2 separate regions of the Homo sapiens genome follow, and region 2 is linked to region 1. Evidence: promoter capture Hi-C in human tissues and cell types (Jung and others, 2019). All regions are on one chromosome and are shown on one strand. Each heading gives the region's core, a stretch centred on a gene start or on the middle of the fragment in contact. The rest is flanking DNA. Distances are from core to core; before and after follow the strand shown. Region 1 holds the start of SECTM1 (secreted and transmembrane 1). Region 2 overlaps CCDC57 (coiled-coil domain containing 57).

What was found. The method cuts DNA at HindIII sites, captures the fragments that hold promoters and counts their contacts. A contact is called where the count stands out against the background at its distance.
Region 2: a contact is called between a fragment that was not itself captured here and the fragment with the promoter of SECTM1 in region 1, in 2 of the 25 tissues and cell types used here (liver and lymphoblastoid cells).

The regions. Positions count from the first base shown.
Region 1 is chr17:82,332,099-82,335,552 of GRCh38, reverse strand. SECTM1 (secreted and transmembrane 1) reads left to right here and starts at 1,787. Exons shown (of 5, transcript NM_003004.3): 1 at 1,787-1,853. RefSeq lists enhancers at 364-433, 2,481-3,283 and a silencer at 3,160-3,444. The HindIII fragment of the contact is 16,320 bases long and covers 136-3,454 here.
Region 2 is chr17:82,134,171-82,137,908 of GRCh38, reverse strand. CCDC57 (coiled-coil domain containing 57) reads left to right here. Exons shown (of 19, transcript NM_001394669.1): 16 at 3,715-3,738. Among named protein-coding and RNA genes, the nearest start is that of FASN, 38 kb to the right of the region's middle. The HindIII fragment of the contact is 3,997 bases long and covers 404-3,738 here.

The DNA.
Region 1 (3,454 bases), core at 538-3,037:
GCTGAGGTGGGAGAATCAGTTGAACCTGGGAGGCAGAGGTTGCAGTGATCGAGACTGCAGCACTGCACTCCAGCCTGGGCAACAGAGACTCCGTCTCAAAAAAAAGAAAGAAATAAACGTGAGTGGATGGCTGTGCTGTTTGTATGGACCAGGAAAACTTCTAGAAGGATAGGTAAGGCAGTGTCCATAACTCAACCTGGGAATTGAAGCCAGGGTGGGGAGGAAAAGGCAACAGTTGGTTTCATTCTATTTTGTTTCTGTGCCTGTATTACTTCCAAAATAAACAAACTAGTTTCACTTTCACAACATGAAATGCTTTATCAGGATATGCGTTTTCCTCCAACCCCCAGTGGTGTCCCCTCACGGGACAAAAGCCTGCCAGCCTTCAGCTGCCCTCCAGAGCCTCACGGTGCAGGTGCTCCTGCCTAAGCAGCCGGACCCCCCTGCCCCCAGGAACTGCAGCCCCCTCTGAGTTGAGAGATCTAGTAGGCAGGAAAAAAGGAGAAGGAAGCTGTGGCTGCTGGGGGATGTGGCCTCGGGGACAAGCCCCTCTGTGCAGAGGACGTGGGCAGGTGGGATTTCAGCCCCCTCTCCAGCATCTCACTGGCAGCCAGGGTGGCTGGGGTTTCCCCGAGGGCGGGGGCTGGGGAATCTGACCTCTGTGCCCCGGCCATGGTGCCGTCTTGCTGGGAGGATGACAGGCTGTGTTTCACCTGCCAATTTGGCGACAGTTTCTCTTTTGGAACATCCCGGGGGACTTTGTTCTGTGCCACCCACCTCTGGACCCTGGGTCTGATGGCTGAGCTGCAGGCTCCAAGGTTCAGCGTCCAGTCTGGCCCTGCTCCGTCCATTCCCCACATTTGAGGGTTTCCCGGAGTTTGGTTCTGCTTCTTCCTCTCTTCCATGAAACTGGGGGCATTGCCCACGCCCCAGTGTCCCCCATCATCTGCCCGGTGGGGACTTGCCCACTCACGTGACTGCAGCCTGTGGGGCCTCCTCCTAGTGTCCCGAAGATACCTGGTCATCCTTGACCCCGCCCGCACCTGCCCGCGTGCCCCCTCGGGTTCTAGTGGAGGACGTGGCCCGCCTGCCACCCCGCCAGGCGCCGGGTCCTCCAGGCCTCCTCGAGCCACCTCCTGCCCACCTGGGATGTCTGTGGGTTCCCGGCCCGGATGCGTCTTGGAGCCTTCTACCCGCACCCCAATCTCCTGCCCCAACAGGCTGGGCCCCTCCTCCCGGGCTGGCCAGGCCAGCACCTCCGCAGGGGCCGCAGGACGCCTGAAGGCCCAGGCCGCAGGTGCAGGACCCTCTGCGGGGGAGCTGGGGGACATCACTCCTCTGCTCTGCGCGCTTTTATGAAAGGGCCTCTGACCCTCCGGGGGTCCAGCTCACTCTGCCCGCGCACTCCCAGGCATCTGGGGGCCGCCCCCCGCCCTCCCTCCCCGCGGCCCACTCGGCCCGCCCAGCTCGCCCCGTGCACAGACTCGAGGCCTCCAGGAGCGGAGCCAAACAGCCCCGCGGGGAACGCGCGCCGCACGCGAGCTGGACCCGCCCAGGCACGAACTCTCCTGGAAAAATGCTCCCGGCGGCTTTCCTGCTTCCTTTAGCGTGAACCGCGGGTGCGGTGCCTCCCGTGAAAATAATAAATTCACCGTCACGCTTGTTGTGAACGCGGGTGGTTCCCGAAACTTGGAGGCTTCCCGTAAACCCAGCTCCTTCCTCATCTGGGAGGTGGGTCCCGCGCGGGTCCGCCGCCTCCTCCCTGGCCCCTCCCTCTCGTGTCTTTCATTTTCCTGGGGCTCCGGGGCGCGGAGAAGCTGCATCCCAGAGGAGCGCGTCCAGGAGCGGACCCGGTGAGGCGCGGAGAGGGGCGGGCGGGGGAACCAGAGGGGCGGGCTCGGTGCTGGGGACTCGGTGCTGGGGACTCGGTGCTGGGGACTCGGTGCTGAGGGCCCGGTGCTGGGGACTCGGTGCTGGGGGCTCGGTGTTAGGGCCTCTTGGTGCACTGGGGTTGCCGGTCCGCGCAGGGATGGGGACTCTGGGGCTGCGGCGCCTCTGCCTCTGGGACCGTCACCCCCCGCTGGCCCTGAGCGTGCGTCGCAGGCCAGGCGGGCGGGGTCGCAGCGGGCGTACCCGAGTATGGGCGGGAACGAGCTGCCGGCCGGTGTGGGGACCCGCGTCCCTGCCCTGTGCGCCAGGCTCGACTCTTGAAGGGACAGAGGCGGCGTCTCGGACCCGGGGCTCCCCTAAGTCCGATGGGTCGGAGCCCCCTCCTCCCTTCCCGGTCCTCGGCCTCACCCGGGGTTCCCTGCGCCGTCGCTGCGACCAAGCTGGGAGCAAAACGCACTCGCTCATATGCGTGCACACAAGCTGGTGGACACACGCACATGAGCACACGCAGGCACGCGTGGACTGTTGCACACTCCACAGCCACAGCCTCGTGTGCACTCACAGCAAACTCATGAAACAGGAACCGTGAGGCTTCCCTCACCCGGCAGGCCCTCAGCTGCCCGTTCTCACGCGGGTTTTGCTGACTCCGCAGTAATCACCACATTCAGTTCCTTGCCCACTACTGGTGAATCACCTGCAGCTTGAGAAGCACGTTTTCTGCCGGTGGTCAGCAGAGGATCCCCGGCTTCTAGGAGGCCCAGGGCGACCGGCTGCAGGAGCCCGCGTAGGAGGCCTGTCTCCAGCAGGGCGGGGGTGGTGGCAGGGCCTCTCCACGGGGCTGCTGCTGAGCCCAGAGCGGGAGGACAGGAGGCCACCAGCAGAGGGGACAGGTGAACAGGTGCTGAGCAGGAAGGGTTAGCCCGGTCTAGCCCCAGGCCTGGGGGGCTTTGCTGCTCACCTGGGGTCCCCTCTGGGCCTGGCTCAGCAGAGACCAGGGCAGAGCCGTCCACACCGTGGGCCTGGGTGGGGTCCATGGCCTCTGCAGGCTGCAGCTGTCTTCTGAGAGGTGTTGGTGTGCTCATTCTCGGTAGAGACGTGGGGTCACCTGTGTTCCCTGAGCCCCTGCAGCAGCTGGGAAAGCAGTGTCAGCCACCCCTCAGGTGCTGTGGGGGTACAGAGTCCACTGACCACACAGGAGGACCCCAATGAACCCAGCCCGAGGGGGCCGGAGCTTCCACACACCCAGCACCCATGGGAGCCGGGACAGGCAGGCGCCCGGGGCACCAGGGAGCGGGAACAGGCATGCGCAGGCGTGCTGGGCGGTGCGTGAACTTTCCTAGGCGTGTCACTGGCATGGCTCCAAGCCTGCGCATCATCGCTTGTCAGGGAGCACTCAGACCCTGCCGTGTCTGGTGCCGGCGCCTCAGATACCGACCCCTGTGTTCGTGGTTTGAGAGAAATCTGATTGCCGCCTCCATCTTTTCCCGCTCTAGAAGTTTGTTTTTTGTTTTGTTTGGTTTGAGACGGAGTTTCGCTCTTGTTGCCCAGGCTGGAATGTAGTGGC
Region 2 (3,738 bases), core at 1,153-3,652, 200 kb after region 1:
CGAGGTCAAGAGATCAAGACCATCCTGGCCAACAAGGTGAAACCCCGCGTCTACTAAAAATACAAAAATTAGCCAGGCATGGTGGCGGGTGCCTGTAATCCCAGCTACCCGGGAGGCTGAGGAAGGAGAACCGCTTGAACCAAGAAGTCAGAGGTTGCAGTGAGCCGAGATTGCGCCACTGCACTCCAGCCTGGCGACACAGCGAGACTCCATCTCAAAAAAAAAAAAAAGAAAAGTCTCCTGAAAGCTTTATTTTATTTGACATTTAGAATTCAATTTTGAGAAGGAAAAAAAAATGTCAGGAGATTTGAACATTAAGACTCATGGGTACCTGAGAAATAATATTTAGCTACCCACGTGAAAGTGACAAAAAGCTTAAACATAGGAGAGAACAGTTATAGAGAAACTTAGCTCTTTCATAAGCATGGGAAGCTTTGTTTTCTGAAACCATCAAGACATAATAAGTCAACAAAAGCACGGAAAATTACCCTGGTAAGACAGCACCTTTGCTGTCTGAACAGATTACATAGAAAGTAAAGAATAACCCTTCATAGTTTAGGGGAAGTCAATAAATAGTAAACGAAGGAAGGCTGGGTGCAGTGGCTCACGCCGGTAATCCCAGCACTTCGGGAGGCCGAGGTGGGCGGATCATAGGATGCTTGCAGGAGTTCAAGACCAGCCTGGCCAACACGGTGAAACCCCTTGTCTACTAAAAATACAAAAATTAGCCGGGCATGGTGGCAGGTGCCTGTAATCCAAGCTACTGAAGAGGCTGAGGCGGGAGAATTGCTTGAACCTGGGAAGTGGAGGTTGCAGTGAGCCAACATCACACCACTGCACTCCATCCAGCCTGGATGACAGAGCAAGACTCTGTCTCAAAAAAAAAAAAAAAAAAGTAGTACACCAAGGAAACAAACCCATCAAAATTGGGCTAACTTTGCTAAGATTTTAACACATTTCATGGCTTTTTAAAAAACTAGCTTTCTTTCAACCAAGTAAGGATTGAGAAAACAAGACCTAGCTTTCAGCTGGGTGCAGTGGCTCATGCCTCTAATCCCAGCCCTTTGGGAGGCCAAGGGAGGAGGATCACTTGAGGCTAGGAGTTTGAGACTAACCTGGGCAGAATAGTGACACCCTGTCTCTACTAAAAAACAAAAAACTTGGCTGGGTGTGGTCCCAGCTACTTGGGAGGCTGAGGTGGGAGGATCGCTTGAGCCCAGGAGGTGGAGGCTGCAGTGAGCCGCGATTGCACCACTGCACTCCAGCCTGGGTGACAGAGCAAGACTCTGTCTCAAAAAAACTAGTTTTCTTTTTTTTTTTTTTTTTTTGGTACTATACATATAAAATGTACTGTTGAAAGCTCATGAAGTATACAAAGTATACAGTTCAGTGCATTAAGCACGTCAAGAATGTTGTGCGAGCATCATCATTTGTTCCAGAATTCCTTTCACTTCAGAGGAAACCCCACACTCATTCGCAGTTGCTTCCTGTCCCCCGCCCAGCACCCACATTCTGCCTCCATGCCTTTGCCTGTTCTGGACGTTTCACTTCAGCAGGATCCCACAGGATGTGTCCCTTTGTGCCTGGCTTCTTTCCCTCTGTGTCCTGTTTGAGGGTCCCTCGTGCTGGGGCGTCTGCACTTAATTCCTTTCCATGGGAAGAGCTCTTTGCTGGGGGACAGGCCACTGTAGGCATTTGTCCATCAGTTTGATGGACATTTGGATGGTTTCCGCCTTTGGGCTATTGTGAATAATATTGCTGTGAACATTCAGTTCTCTTGGATGCCTCCCTAGAAGTGGCCTTGCTGGGTCATGTGGGAATTCTGTGTCTAACCTGGTAAGGAGCCACCAAACCGCCTCCCATGCCCACCAGCTGCGCACGAAGGTTCTGATTTCTCCACATCTGCACCAGCACTTGCTATTTTCTGTCGGGGTTTTTTTTAATTAAGAATACTTTTATTGCATATCTTTAAAAACTTTATTTTTTTTATATTTAAAAAAATTTCTTTTAAAAATAGAGGTGGGATCTCACTGTGTTGCCCACGCCAGTATCCAACACCTGACATCAAGGATCCCCCCCACCCGGCCTCCCAGTGTGCTGGGGTTACAGGTGTGAGCCACCGCACCCAGCTGTTTTCTATCCTGTTGATCCCAGCCAACCTAGTGGGTGTGAGGCGGGATCCCATAGTGGGCTTGATTTTACATTCTCCTGGTGACCAATGGTGTTGAGTGTCTTCAGGAGGTTTTTGCCCACACGTGCATCTTCTGACTTCATGGCTTTTAAATTCAGGTGTTTATAAACCAAGGGAAACACGTTCATTTCCAAGTGTCATCTTTGGGTTCTTTTATTGCGTAGAAGAAACTGATGCTTTACTTGAGGGCCCATCTCGGGATGTCCACAGGGCAGAGCTAATCCTGCGATGCTCCTCAGATGTTGATCATAAGCAATATGTTCATCATGGCTAACTTCAAGTTAATTGATAAAAAAGCTTTAAAATTTTTCTGTTTTGACCAGGCACATGGCTCACACCTGTATTCCCAGCACTTTGGGAGGCCAAGGCGGGCAGATCACCTGAGGTCGGGAATTCGAGACCAGCCTGACCAACATGGAGAAACCCCGTCTCTACTAAAAATACAAAATTAGCCGGGCGTGGTGGCGCATGCCTGTAATCCCAGCTACTTGGGAGGCTGAGGCAGGAGAATTGCTTGAACCCAGGAGGTGGATGTTCTGGGGGTGTCGAGATCGCGCCACTGCACTCCAGCCTGGGGGACAAGAGCGAAACTCCATCTCAAAAAAAAAAATGTCTGTTTCAATTTCCAATATGTGAAATGTCAACAGTTATAAACACCCTCCAAAAACCTTGTTGGAATCCTCAGTGAGTTTAACGAAACTGATTTGTAATCCTGGGAAATGTTATTTCAGTAATTATGTCTTCTGATGTGTCTGCTTAGAGAAGGAGCAGATCTTTACATAACATAACATGAATGGAATTGATGAAAGGATCTCGTTTGATGTGGGGTCATTTCTAAGTAAGCTAGCATGCCGAAGCTTTGAGTAGAACCATCATTTTTAAGTTGTTATACTTAAGCTTTTGCTTCTTTTGTTTGTTTGTTTGCTTGCTTTTTGAGATGGAGTTACCCAGGATGGAGTGCAGTGGCATGATCTCGGCTCGCTGCAACCTCTGCCTCCCGGGTTCAAGCAATTCTTCTGCCTCAGCCTCCCGAGTAGCTGGGATTACAGGTGCCCACCACCACGCCCAGCTAATTTTTGTATTTTTAGTAGAGACGGAGTTTCACCATGTTGGCCAGGCTGATCTCGAACTCCTGGCCTCAAGTGAGCAACCTGCCTCAGCCTCCCAAAGTGCTGGGATTACAGACGTGAGCCTCCGCACCTGGCAAGTTTTTGCTTCTTCTTTGTGCCTGCCACAGAAAGGGCGTCTGGGTGCTTCTGTTAGCGAATGTGCTTGCTGCCCCCGCTGTGAGGACAGCAAGGGCTGTGTGTGGCAGGGGCGTGGCATTGTGTGTGCAAGAGCTCTACCGAAATGCTGTGTGTCACAGTTCACTGTTGTCCGGCCCTCCCCAAGTTCTCGATGTAATGGAAGTTACTTTGGTTTTGAAAAGGAACATGCTGTTCTTTCTGAGTGTTTGCATTCAACACAAGAGGAATCCAGAAGTGATGCACAGAGAACAAACTCTGTCCCCATCCCATTCCCAGGGTGGCTGTTGCACCACGCCCTCC